3 separate regions of the Homo sapiens genome follow, and regions 1 and 2 are each linked to region 3. Evidence: promoter capture Hi-C in human tissues and cell types (Jung and others, 2019). All regions are on one chromosome and are shown on one strand. Each heading gives the region's core, a stretch centred on a gene start or on the middle of the fragment in contact. The rest is flanking DNA. Distances are from core to core; before and after follow the strand shown. Region 1 has its middle 140 kb from the start of MIR2054. Region 2 has its middle 250 kb from the start of LINC02379. Region 3 holds the start of FAT4 (FAT atypical cadherin 4).

What was found. The method cuts DNA at HindIII sites, captures the fragments that hold promoters and counts their contacts. A contact is called where the count stands out against the background at its distance.
Region 1: a contact is called between a fragment that was not itself captured here and the fragment with the promoter of FAT4 in region 3, in 1 of the 25 tissues and cell types used here (mesendoderm cells).
Region 2: a fragment that was not itself captured here is called in contact with the fragment with the promoter of FAT4 in region 3 in 1 of the 25 tissues and cell types used here (H1 embryonic stem cells).

What each region holds. Positions count from the first base shown.
Region 1 is chr4:125,648,275-125,652,764 of GRCh38, reverse strand. No RefSeq gene overlaps it. Among named protein-coding and RNA genes, the nearest start is that of MIR2054, 140 kb to the right of the region's middle. The HindIII fragment of the contact is 5,175 bases long and covers 1-3,962 here.
Region 2 is chr4:125,814,581-125,819,111 of GRCh38, reverse strand. No RefSeq gene overlaps it. Among named protein-coding and RNA genes, the nearest start is that of LINC02379, 250 kb to the left of the region's middle. The HindIII fragment of the contact is 4,423 bases long and covers 1-3,798 here.
Region 3 is chr4:125,311,734-125,316,476 of GRCh38, reverse strand. It overlaps FAT4 (FAT atypical cadherin 4), which reads right to left and starts at 1,522. Exons shown (of 18, transcript NM_001291303.3): 1 at 500-1,522; 2 at 1-77. The coding sequence starts at 65. The HindIII fragment of the contact is 10,793 bases long and covers 1-3,458 here.

The DNA of each region.
Region 1 (4,490 bases), core at 126-2,625, 340 kb before region 3:
TAAAAAAAGAAAAACACACAGAGATATACACACAAACACACACACACACACACAGACGTTGAAAATTAGGACCAACAGTCAATCAGTTTTCATAATCTTGAAGAAAATCAGACTAATGGTACGGCTGATAAAAATGAATAAAAATAATTTCAATAAATTTCAACTGATTATTGTTACCTTATGCTATACTAAAAGAAACAGCACAAGTCCGTATGAAATGTGTAGGGAGAAGTTGCCTCTTTCTCAACTGGCCTCTCTCTAATTTAGAAACGCAAGAGCTACAGAAAACTACAAATTATGTAACTAAATTATTTTATGGGTGCTCTTAAATACTCTGTTCAAATTGTAAAAGTGCGTCTTTCCCTACATGTAGACAAACTACCACGTCCAGAAAAAGCTCACAAGGAATAGGGAGATGGAGACAGGACCGTTCATAGAAGAACATCTAAAGTATGGCAATCTTAAAGCAAGTGAGAGGTGACAGCGTGCTGGCAGTCCTCACAGCCTTCGCTCGCTCTCGGCACCTCCTCTGCCTGGCCTCCCACTTGGGCGGCACTTGAGGAGCCCTTCAGCCCGCCACTGCACTGTGGGAGCCCCTTTCTGGGCTGGCCAAGGCCGGAGCTGGCTCCCTCAGCTTGCAGGGACGTGTGGAGGGAGAAGCGCCGACGGGAACCGGGGCTGCACGGGGCGCTTGCGGGCCAGCGCGAGTTCCCGGTGGGCGTGGGCTCGGCAGGCCCAGCACTCGGAGTGGCCAGCCGGCTCCGCTGGCCCTGGGCAGTGAGGGGCTTAGCACCTGGGCCAGCAGCTGCTGTGCTCAATTTCTCCCTGGGGGGCCTTAGCTGCCTTCCTTCGGTGCAGGGCTCGGGCTCGGGACCTGCAGCCCGCCATGCCTGAGCCTCCCCCACCTCCATGGGCTCCTGTGTGGCCTTGAGCCTCCCCGACAAGCACTGCCTCCTGCTCCACGGCGCCCAGTCCCATCAACCACCCAAGGGCTGAGGAGTGTGGGCGCACTGCAAGGGACTGGCAGGCAGCTCCACCTGCACCCCCGGTGTGGGATCCACTGGGTGAAGCCAGCTAGGCTCCTGAGCCTGGTGGGGACGTGGAGAACATTTATGTCTAGCTCAGGGATTATAAATGCACCAATTGGCACTCTGTATCTAGCTCAAAGTTTGTAAACACACCAATTGGCACCCTGTGTCTAGCTCAGGGTTTGTGAATGCACCAATCGACACTCTGTATCTAGCTAATCTGGTGGGGACTTGGAGAACCTTTGTGTTTAGCTCAGGGATTGTAAAGGCACCAATCAGCGCCCTGTCAAAACAGACAACTGGGCTCTACCAATCAGCAGGATGTGGGTGGGGCCAGATAACAGAATAAAAGCAGGCTGCACGAGCCAGCAGTGTCAACCCCCTCGGGTACCTTTCCATGCTGTGGAAGCTTTGTACTTTTTCTCTTTGCAATAAATCTTGCTGCTGCTCACTCTTTGGGTCCACGCTGCCTTTATGAGCTGTAACACTCACCGTGAAGGTCTGTAGCTTCGCTCTTGAAGCCAGAGAGACCACGAACCCACCGGGAGGAATGAACAACTCCAGACGTGCCGCCTTAAGAGCCCTAACACTAACCGTGAAGGTCCGCAGCTTTGTTCCTGAGCCGGCGGAGACCGCGAAACCCACCAGAAGGAAAAAACTGCCAACACATCCGAACATCATAAGGAACAAACTCCTGACATACCGCCTTTAAGAACCTTGAGGCGGACATACCGCCTGGAAGTCAGGGAGACCAAGAACCCACCAATTCCGGACACACAAGTACAGGTGCTGAAAGACACCAGGTCTAATTCTATTTTTCCAGAAGCTTTAGCTAGTCTTGTTTTTCAGGCACCTAGGAATTGGAGAATGAAGAAGTCAGCTTTTATCAAGCAGTAATAGATTGTAGCATTGAAAATCTGATTACATGCTAATTTTGCCCAGTGTATATGTGAGAAGAGGGTTTGACTTAAGCCAGGGGAGTGAGTAAGGACTAAACAATCCACCAACATAGTTCTTAACAAATAAACAGAGTCTAAATGAATATCTTTGTTCATGCATGAGTAACAGAAAAATAATAATTAACTGAGTGAATAAATATTGAAAGCTAATAAACAGGGAAATAGGAAATATCATTTTGAATATTCAAAGAACCAGACTGAAAATAATCTGCTTCAGGCAACAGAAGAAAATATTGAAACCTCTAAGCATTGTGAGTAACGTGGACTTCTTTTTTGAAAAAGGGAGAGGGGCGTGGTGGCTCACGCCTGTAATCCCAGCACTTTGGGAGGCCGAGGTGGGCAGATCACGAGGTGGGCAGGAGATGGAGACCATCCTGGCTAATACGGTAAAACCCTGTTTCTACTAAAACTACAAAAAATTAGCTGGGCTTGGTAGCATGCGCCTGTAGTCCCAGTTACTCAGGAGGCTGAGGCAGGGGACTCTCTTGAACCTGGGAGGTGGAGGTTGCAGTGAGCTGAGATCGTGCCACTGTGCTCCAGCCTGGGTGACAAAGCGAGACTACATCTCAGAAAAAAAAAAAAAAAGGCGGGGGGAGAGAATCAATCCAAAATTTATATTACACAGAGCAACTGAAAAGGAAAAGAGGTGAAATAAAGATGAATTGCTAGTAAACTATGCAACAATATCAACCTTGAAGGCTACAAACCCAGAATTTACATACATTGTCAGACATAAACTTATATATAAGAAAAATACAAAATTGAAAGTGAACTAATGAATTTTAAATGTTTTTGAAGAAAAAGAATAATTCTGTCCAAAGCAACAATGAACCATTTAGGAAAACTATCTTGTACTAAAGCAAAATCATCTCAAAAAAAAAAAAAAAGTAGAAAAACACAGAAATTTGATTAAAACAGTAAGGTAGAGGACCTGGTAAAATTAGATATATTCATATATGCTGGTTAATTTGACAACCCAAATGAAAAGAATAGTTTTTAGAATAAATATAAAATATCAAAGTTTCCTAAAAATAAATTGTATCTGAAGTAGAACAATAAGCATTAAAGGCAATACACTATTAAAGTAAATACGGCCTGAGAAGGACTCTGTACTTCTATATTTGAGTCCTTCTGGATGAACTAACCTAGCTTAAATAGTCAGACGACATCGAAAACCTAACTTAGCAGTATAAGCCTGTAACAATAACTGAGGTTTGGCCAATCCCAGCGGCCGTACTTCAACCATTCATAGCTAAGTGTTCAACCTGTGTTCAAATGAGGCAAACGCCAACCTGTAACCAATCTAGCTGTTTCTGTAACTGATTGTAGACTTCTGTACATCATTTTCCCTTTTTTGTCTATAAATCTTCTTCCACCACGTGGCTGTGCGGGAGCCTCTGTGAATCTGCTGTGATTCTGGGGGCTGTCCCATTCACGAATCATTCATTGCTCAATTAAACTCCTTTAAATTTAATTCGGCGGAAGTTTTCCTTTTATCAAAACCCAAATGTTGGCAGTAATTTTGGTAAATATAAGAAGGAAACAAGGAGAAGTGAGAGATAATACAGGGAAAAGGACTTATTTTAGGTGGAGAAGTCAAGGAAGTTCTCTTGCAGGAGATCAGCTGATAAAAATACATTGCAAACGAATTTTTATATTTTACTATATTGCATATTTTTCAAATTTATACAATGGACTAAGAAAATATGTATTCTTATTTTAAAGTCTAATTCTTTTGATAGAGTAATCTCATTTTTCAAATACTTTTCAGAATAAATATAAAATACCAACATTTCCTGAAAAATTGTATTTTCAGTAAAACAATAACCATGAAAGAAAACACATCCAAATGTTGGCAGTGATTTTGGTAAATGGTAAGAAAAAAATACATAAGGAGTAGTGGGAGATAATGCAGGGGAAATGAATTTATTTTAGATGGAGTAGCTGTGATTTACTGAAAAGAAAAATTAAGGTTTTAGAGGAACTCATTTGCAAATATCATTTAAATTTTTTTTTCAAATGGGATTACTAATTTTGAGAAACGACACAAAATGTTTTAGCTTTTTTTGCATAATGGTGTTCATTACTTTTAGATAGAAAATTTGGAATAAGACATAAAGGTTATAATAGAAAAACAATTCTACAAATTTTATAGAAAAAAACTGAAATATGTTAAATTCACTATTGTTGCATAATAGGAACATGAGTGAGCTAATCCTTGTGTATTTTCTTTAAAACAACTTAAACTTTTCTGTCCAGGTAAAGGTAAATATATAATATCATGCTCTTTGCTTAAATGTTACCAAATCTTCTCTTGTGAAAAATCAGCTCCTACTAATAAATAACTTTATTTGTCACTACAAATGATCTCTAAATTAAATACCTTGTTAAGGTAGCCCTTTTCATCTAGTTTTTAAATTCAAGCTCTGGAGATACCTTTCTAATCATCTGAACAACTTGACATTTATCATTTGGGCTCTGATACATATTTACTGCATTCTAT
Region 2 (4,531 bases), core at 338-2,837, 500 kb before region 3:
CAAGAATGAAATATTTGCCCTTCCTAAATAGGGTCATAGTCTGTGCTTATTTGTAGCCATCAAATAGCTGTCACATCGTGAAAGTTACATTTACATATAAGTTATTTTCAAAGAAACCTAGGGTAAATTTTGCATTTTATTCACTTAATGTCTTTTGAAGTAATTTATATAATGTTTTGTTATTTATGCAGTTTTTAATATATTGTTTTAATTGTTCTTCCAAATAAGCCTGTGGAATTTTTAGAAAATGTAGTTATTTACATTCTGCTGAAGTGAAACAGAATCTTAGAAAGATTAAGTGACATTTAAAATTATGAAGTTTAGATAATTATCAAAGGTAGTGTTGTTCAGTAGATACATATATAATACTAGTCAAAGTGAGAGTCACATGTGTAATTTCAAATTCTTATTAGTCTCATTTTAAAAAGTGAAAAGGAAATTAATACTGTATTTTTCCAACATGTCCACATTATTGTCATTTTAAAATGTGAATCAATGTAATACTATTCATAAGATATTTGACATTCTTTTTTATTCTTAGCAGGTCTTCAAAAATCTAAAGTATATTTTACATATAACACACATCTCAACTTAAGCCAGCTACATCTCAAGAGTTCAATAAATATACACGGCTACTGGCTAACATATTGCACAGCATATATCAATTTCAGCACATATTTGTTCCAGATTCTTAAACAATTGTTTTCCTCTACATAATTAAGTTCCTCTCTTCCTTTTCTACTCTCATGCACCATGATTCTCAGCCAAATGACTGAAGCATCTACTGCAATGGTATAGTTACTTCCTGTATCACCTCATCTATTTTATATTCTGATGCTTGAATTACCTCCCTTATTTGTATATTTGATCACATCACTCCCTGATTTACAGCAGAAACCATCCCCCATTTTGTTTCAATTTGAGATAGGGCTTTTGAATTTTTGAAGTGTTCTCTAGGTAATTTTGATGCACCACTGATTGAATTACCAGAGTAGATACTAATTCCTTTTCAAGCAGTACACTGTGTTAAGTGCTGCCATTATTCTGACCTGTCTGAATACCTTACACTTACCCAGTTAGTGTTGGTTTTGTGACAGCTGGGATTGGTCCTAGCAGAGTTTGACACATAGTGGTATACATGAGTTAACAAAGAAAATGTATTTTTAAAATCTCATAATATATTTCACATGCCAAATTATTTCAGTCAACTGACAATGAAAGAACTATTAAATGCATCCATGTTAGTTTCTGAATAGTTTAACCTAATTGTTCATTAGGTTTTCCCATTAAAAATGAGAAGTAACAGTGTATTTTTACTCAATGGGATATTCTGATATTTGATTACGAAAATTTGATTTATGCACATCTGAACCTGAATTTGTAATTTCTGTTACATTAAAATGTGACATTCAGACATAACAGGTCAACTTATCCATGTTTTTATGTTAAAATGCAGAAAATGAGATTGCTAGAAAAAATTAATACTTTAAAATAAATTACTGTTTTAAATGCATAGATTCTTATAGTCATTGTTAAAATTCTTTATAATGTGGCTAACAATTTATATTCCTTAGCTTGTACACTACAACAAGCATAAATCCCTCTTGGTTATATTTTTATGTGATAAAAGGATTTCCAATTCGTTTTTATTGGAGAAATATACATTTATATATACAGCATTAAAATTAGATTCTTTTGGGTCAAAATTTTAAAAAGAATATTTTACAACCTAAGGGGAAAATATGCCTAAAACACACTATTAGGTTTTCAACTATGATCAAAGTTAAAATAAATAAATGTATCTCTGCAGACATTAAACTGTATCTTCAAGCTGCATACAAAATGAGACCAACCTTAGGGATTTTTTTTCAATATAAAAGACCTCAGTAACAGGATAAAAATGGAAATAGATTTTATATATATATTTCCCAAGGTTTATATTTGATAGCCCTTTATAAAGAATTTGGTAAGATGAAATAAAATGGCAAGATCAAACACACACACAGAGAAACGGATTTCCTGCTATGAAGCATGTAAATTAAGATGATGTAGCAAATGAAAAGCTTTGTTCCTGCGATTCCTTATATCGTGCCTACAGAAAAAAATTAAACATCCAATTTGATTAATATAATCAAATAATTCATATATTTTATTTAAACTAGGCAGAGTGCTTATTTTAAATCTTCTTAAAAATGTTTATCTAAATATTGTGTTTTTTTCCACCAAATTTACTGGAATGGTTTAAACATGTCCTGAGCATTAGAAACCACAGATATTATTTGTACACTGCAACTGCAGTCCTCCAATCTAGCCCTTAACGGTTATGCTCAGGCAACACTGGCATTTAAGTTCCTCAAATTCATCAAAGTCATTCTTACCTTGGGGGCTTTATTTGTATTGTCCCTACTGTCTATAATAGATTTCTTTCCATTCTTGCAAGCTTGGCGGTTTCTTATTCTTGGGTCTCAGCTTAAACATCACTTCTGTAGAAAATCCTTCTTTTATCATCTAAGTTTGGTCTCCTTTTATTTCTATCTTAGTAGTCTATCTATTTCTTTTTACATCTTTTTATAGTTTTTATTTATTTATTTATTTATTTATTTATTTATTGTTGATTACTTGCTTATTTGTTCTTGCCTCTCTCTTTTCCTATGCATGTATGAGGAAAAGTAAATTAGTTATTAATCACTTCACATTAGTGAATAGTAAAGCTTCTGTCACAAAGTTAGTGCCTAATAAATATTTGTCTGATACAAATAAATGAATAAATCACAATATTGTTAACTGACTTAGTTACATGTATTTTTTACCTCTGCTTAAGATTAGTTTTTTAAGGGTTTACAATTTAACTGTAATGATGTGTGAATAATTTATTAAAAGCCAAATGAATCAAACAAGAAATATTTTAAGTCAAAGAATCAAACAAGACATATTTTAATTGCAATGGAGCCTAAGAATTCATGTTAGTGTATGTTTACCAAAATAACCTACAGAAAGTTTCAGATATAGCAAAAGCAAATCTCATGAGATTAACAGGAGTTACCATGAAACTGAAGCTTTGTTAAAAGTGAAAATAAAATAGAAACTTAAATTTTTTCTCTTTTCAATATACAGTTTTATGAAAACACACATTTAAGAAAATGAGATAAGATACTAATAATAAGTAAGGTAAAAAGATGGTACATAAGATTTTTAAAAAGATTTCACAACAAAATTTAACTCTAAAGATATAACATTCGTCTATCCTTAACCACCTGCAGTCTATTCTACTTTTTTTTTTTTTTTTTTTTTTGAGACAGAGTCTCGCTCTGTCGCCCAGGCTGGAGGGCAGTGGCGCGATCTCAGCTCACTGCAAACTCCGCCTCCCGGGTTCACGCCATTCTCCTGCCTCAGCCTCCCAAGTAGCTGGGACTACAGGCGCCCGCCACCACGCCCGGCTTTTTTTTTTGTATTTTTAGTAGAGACGGGGTTTCACCGTGTTAGCCAGGATGGTCTCGATCTCCTGACCTCGTGATCCGCCCGCCTCCGCCTCCCAAAGTGCTGGGATTACAGGCGTGAGCCACCGCGCCCGGCCTATTCTATTCTTTACATAATAGTTTGAGTAATCCTTTTAAAATATGTCTGATCATGTCTCTATTTGTTATGGTTAATTTTATTTGCCAACCTGAATGGAATTTTGGGGTTCCCAGATATCTGGTTAAACATTACGATGGCTGTGTCTGTAAGGATGTTTCTTGTGAGATTAACCCTGGAATCAACAGACTAAGTAAAAAAGTAAATTGGCCTTCCAAATGGGGGCAGGCTTCATCAACCGTTTGAAGCCTAAACAGAAACAAAGGCAAGATGAGAGAGAATTTGCTCACTCTGACTGACAGTTTTCCAGTTGAGACATCAATCTTTTCCTGCACTTGGGCTAGAACTTATACCACTGGCTCTCCTTGTTCTCAGACCTGTATGCTTGGACTGGAATTGTATCACTTGCTCTCTTGGATCTCTAGCTTGCCAATGGCAGATCTACATATGGAGAGAATGTGCTGGATTCCCAATCTGGGTGGAAGGTTCAACCTCTGGAACATATGGTTTAGTCTTTTGTTTAATATCATGGTTCCCGGGAACATTACATAAAAAACAATAGAGAAGTGCTAGCATCTTATATTTGGGTAAAGAAAATAGGAAGAAACCCAAGGGAAAACAAGGAAGTGGTATTTTTACTATTGGCATATTATTACCTGAAATTTAAATACATCCATTAGTAAAATTGTTCACTTTTAGTCTTCCTATTTTGTTAGGGTTCTCCAGAGAAACAAAAGGAAAGTATATACATAATTAGATCTTGGGATTTCTTCAAGCATACTGAGTGCAGATCCTGGGATTTCTTCACATGACCAATTCTTTATCCTCTCTCTCTCTCTCCCTCTCTCTCTCTCTCTATATATATATATGTGTGTGTGTGTGTGTGTGTGTGGTGTGTGTGTGTGTGTGTGTGTGTGTAAAGGTATACATATATATGTAAATTAAGAATGATGTAGCA
Region 3 (4,743 bases), core at 273-2,772:
GATACTGATAGAGTGTGCAACGGGAGCCACGGGCGGCCAGTAGCCCTGTCTGGTGCTAAGTCCATGGTCCTGGCTCCCTAAAACGATGTGATAAAGAGAAGGAAGGGGTGAAGCAAACGCAATGATATTTACAGGGATTAAGGAGCGCCAGCAAAGATTCAGCTGACGGCTTGGTCTGAGACCTCTGCTATTTCAAAGAACCTCCAGTCCGGCAAAAGCAAGTAGCATCAGCAAAAGACTCTAGGTAGCCAGTTGAACGCGGAGTGCAAGAGAGATGCTGTGGCGAAAAGCGGCAGGGCATTCCGCGGGACACTCCTGTGAGCTGAGTTCCCAGAAAAGTTTCTCAAGCCTCTTATATATGCCCCCTTTTACTTTGTTTTTGAATCCAGATAGTCTGAGCGTTTTCACCCGGGTGGATGAGAGTTGGGAGAAGTTGCCTGTATCTAAGGTATATGAGGAATCATTGCAAAGAACGGTCTTCAGAAACTTTAGAACTTACCCGCAGCGAAGAACGTGAAGAGGGAGGAACAAACGTCCAAGCACAACTGCGCACCGGGGAAGGGGTGGTGGGGAACCGGGAGAATCGAATTTCTTTCCCAAAAGCTGGAGGCGATGGAATTCCTGGAGTCCCCACTCCTCAAAAACCAGGCTGCAACGCCCCTCCAACAGGGCGCCGGCAGTGGCCGCTGAGGCCCAGGCGGCGGCGTCTGCGCGCAGGCAGTTCGGGAACTGCGTTCCAAGCGCTAGCGTTCGCGCTCTGGCTCCCGTACCCGGGAGCGCTCAACTCTGCCCCTTCCCCTCCTGCAGCCGCCGCCGCCGCCGCCCCTGTTGCGGCTTCAAGCCCGTGGTCCGGCACAAACAACAGCCAGGGCTCCTCGGCATTTTTCACCTCTGCCGGGGCGCCTGCCGACCCATTATTTGTACATCCAAATCGAACGCAGTTTCCCCTTTCTTCTCGGCCTCGCAGGGGTCGGGCAGAAACAGCGTGCGGTCCCCGAGTCGCCCTCCCCTCACCATGCCAGGGGGGGTCGTTCTCCGGCGGCCCCAGTCAGAAGCCCACTCTAGCGCGCCTCGCCCCTGCCCTCGCTATCTCTGCTTTTATTGTCCCGTGTCAGTTTCACTTTGTAATCCACAAGGCTTTTTGTTTGGGGCGGGGGGTGGTTGATGCCTCTCTCTCCTTCACAGTTGGCAGCGGAGGCGGCGAAGTCGGCGCTGGGCTGTAGTGACGCCCTCCGCAGCTCCGGACGGCGCCTGTCAGCGCTCTCCCTCTCGCCGGCCGGGGCCGAAGGTTGGACTGCGGTGGAGCTAGGGCTCCGCGAGCCCTTCTCCACCTCCCGCCTGGTCCCTCACACTCTCCCCGCCCCTTCCCCGCCGCACAGGCATGCACACACACACACATACACACGCACACACACACACACAGCGCGTCGCCGAAACACAAACAGAGGGGGAGGGAAGACCGCGAGCTGGAGCAGCACTCAGAAACTTTGCTCGACACTCATTGATCCCCGCACTTTAGTTCGCCTGGACTCCCCCTAGCTCCCAGTCCTGTCACCTTCTGCCCCTCCCTCGCCCCAGCCCCATTGGGCCGGAGCTGAAGCAGCCCCGACCGGCACTCCTACCGCGAGCGCCCTCCGCCTTGCCCGGCCTCCGACTGGCTTCTCGGGATGCTAATCACTTCAGCCTCCCGGAGGGCTGTAGGCGGTCTGGTGTGGGAGCACAGCGAGGCGGAGGCGCTAAAAAGGGGGGTGATTTTTTTTCTTTTCTTTTTTTTTTTTTTTTTTCCTTTTCGGCCAAATCTTGGCCGGCGTCAGAGCAATAACAGCAAAAGGCTGCCGCAGAATAGATGGGGGTGGGGTCAGGTTTGCAGATAAATAACTTTAGTGGCAGGGTCTGGGGGAAGACCGTTAGGTTGTTATGCTAGTAATAACTCAGGGGTAAGGGGGTCGAGAGAAATAAAAGAAAGGCGGGGGGTGAGGGTCTGTTAAAGCGGGGAGGAAGGATTAAGCAAAGCCTGTCTGGGAATGCACAGTGCAGATTTGCTTTAACCATTTCCTGCCCCTTCTCTCTTTATGCAAGGGATAGAGCTGCCATACAGTGTGATCCCACAGAATCCAAATCAAATCCTCCCCTTTGCTCCTCTTTCTACACAGTGGGCTCCCTGCTGTCTAGGGCGAGCTAAACTCTAAATCTTCACTCACTTGCCCCTCTCCCCCACCTTCCAGGTGACTAGGGGGCAGGAGGCCTCCGTAGCAAGGGCACTTTGGACTTCCTACTATAGGAAAGGCCAGGGGAACTCAGTGTTTGTTTTGTTTTCTTTCCCAACTGGATTCCAGGTGCCAGTAGCCCAAACCTTAGGGTTTCAACAACAATAATAATGGCAGCCCTTTGAAAAGAGGGAGATCTTTTCCTGTTGCAAAGTTAGTTTGGAATTTTGATCCCTGATGGAGTATTTCCACCTCCACATTTTTTAGTCAAAGGAAACCTAATAAAGTTTTATTTTGCTTTTCAGTCTGGGAGAAATAGATACGAGAAAGTAGAAATAAATAAAATAATATTTAAGCTTAAGTTTTTAAAAATACCCACATGCCACTTAATGCACTCAGATCAACTCACCCACTATTCACTGCAGTTAATTTTTGTGGTGGCATGCATCGTTTCTTTAAAAGAAGAAAAACGTTACTAGGAATCAGATCGATATTTTTCCCCTTTAAGGGAACCAACCTAGAAAATAAGAATTCAAGCCAAACAATGCAAATACAGGGCATATGTCATACATTTCTGCCACAAGGATCCCTCACAAACGTAAAACTTTCTGCGCCCAGAGAGGGTTCAGTCATGAGTAAATACTGCCCTCTGCTGTTCTACGTCAGTCTTACATCTTTAGTCTCCTGGTTTCTTGCTTAAAATTAAATGCAGAGACTAAAAGGATCGGATTACAAGGCTAATTCCTGCTTCTTGCCTAGGGATAGCAGCAAAGAAAACGATCTCTAAGACTTTCCTAGTGCCTTTCTTATTTAGAGTAAAAAAAAAAAAATCAAGAATAGTAGGACAGACAGCAAATTCAAGTCTTGATGATGCAGGCAGCCTGTAACTCAAAACTGATTTATGGAAACATGATTTCTAAAGCTATCACCAATTCCTCTGTTTAGGTTAAAAAGCTAACTTCTACATATTCCTCTACTGTAATGTAATGAGTTAACTGGAAACAGACAAAAAAGTTAAATTTAACCATTTATGTATTTTAAAACTTGAAAACATTAGACTCTAGACTTTTTAGAGACATTTAAGCCTGTTTTTCAAAAATCGTATTTTTCTTAAGTTACAATCCTAACACCATTATTTTTGGTATAATTTAGCCAAAAAATATTTGTAGATTAACTAAAGTGGCAAACAAATTTTTACAAATTTTTACAAATCATGTCTGTGTGATTTTAAGAGAATATTACTGTTTTGTTTTATTTTGTTTCCTAATGCACTATTATTCAAGTATTTATAGAGAAATAAACAGAAAGAAATCATTCAGATACTTGTTGTAGGAGATCATGGACTTTTGTTGGTTTGCTTGTTTTTTTTTGCCTGTGGGATAATCTTCAGATTTAGTGTCAATAGTATTACATTTGCATTATATATGAGTGAATTTAATTTGGGAAACAGGTGAAGATCATTCATTCTGTGAAATGGAAAGTATTCAATCAGTGCAATATGTATACATTTTAGTTTTACAAAACAAGATATGGCAAAATAAACTAATACAGAAAATATATAGAGAGATAGAGTACATAAAAATTTTTTGGACAATTTCAAAAGAGGATTATCGAAAATTATTTAGCCAATAGTGTGGTTATTTTAACAAGTAGAAACTTTTCGCATGATGACTACTTTAAAGTAACATATTCATTTATAGATAAAACCTATACATGAATTTACAATCTATGTATAGATAGGTACACAATTTAAGGTAAGATATAGAGCATGGTTTTAATAAAAGACAAAGGTATTTTGTTGTTACTTTTCTCTTTTGCATTTCAACCTGTAATATCATGCATGTTAAAAAATGGATGCCCTCCCAAAAAGTAAATCATGCATGATAAATAATATGGATCCCTCTCCAAAAGTAAATGAAAGAAAGTAAAGACATATAGAGATCATTGTATGCATGAAATATGCAAAAAAGCCATGGAATACATTACTAGGTAGATATTATAATGGAACACATTAATAAACAGTTAGTGTAAGAATCATTTCTCATTGTACATTTTCTTTAATTAATTGCCTTTCAAAAAAAAAAAGTTAAGTTTATCTGTGCTTTTCTACCAAAGGCTTGTGTGAGAAGTGTTGTTTAGTCAAAGCTTTTAATAAAGTTCTGAAGAGGAAGATATTCCCCGATGTTAATAGACTGTGGGGGACATATTTTTATGTCCAAATATGAAAGAAACCAGAGAATACCTCATTTGAACCTTAGAACATACGTTAAAACAAATAGCTCTGTAACAATTTGTTATGATCTATACACATTTGCCATCATTATTTAATTAAATGTATGAAATTATGTTTTTGTCATGTTTTAGACTCCAGGTGGCAAAGGCTAGGTTAATTATATTCCTCAATTCGTAAGGCATTAGCAACATTATTCCAGGAAAGGGTATTCTCTCAACTTCCTGCTTTCCTCCCCTCTTCTCCTTTCTTCTCCTCTTCCCTTCCCTTCCTTCTCCATCCCTTGTACTCCCTTCTCTTCCTCTC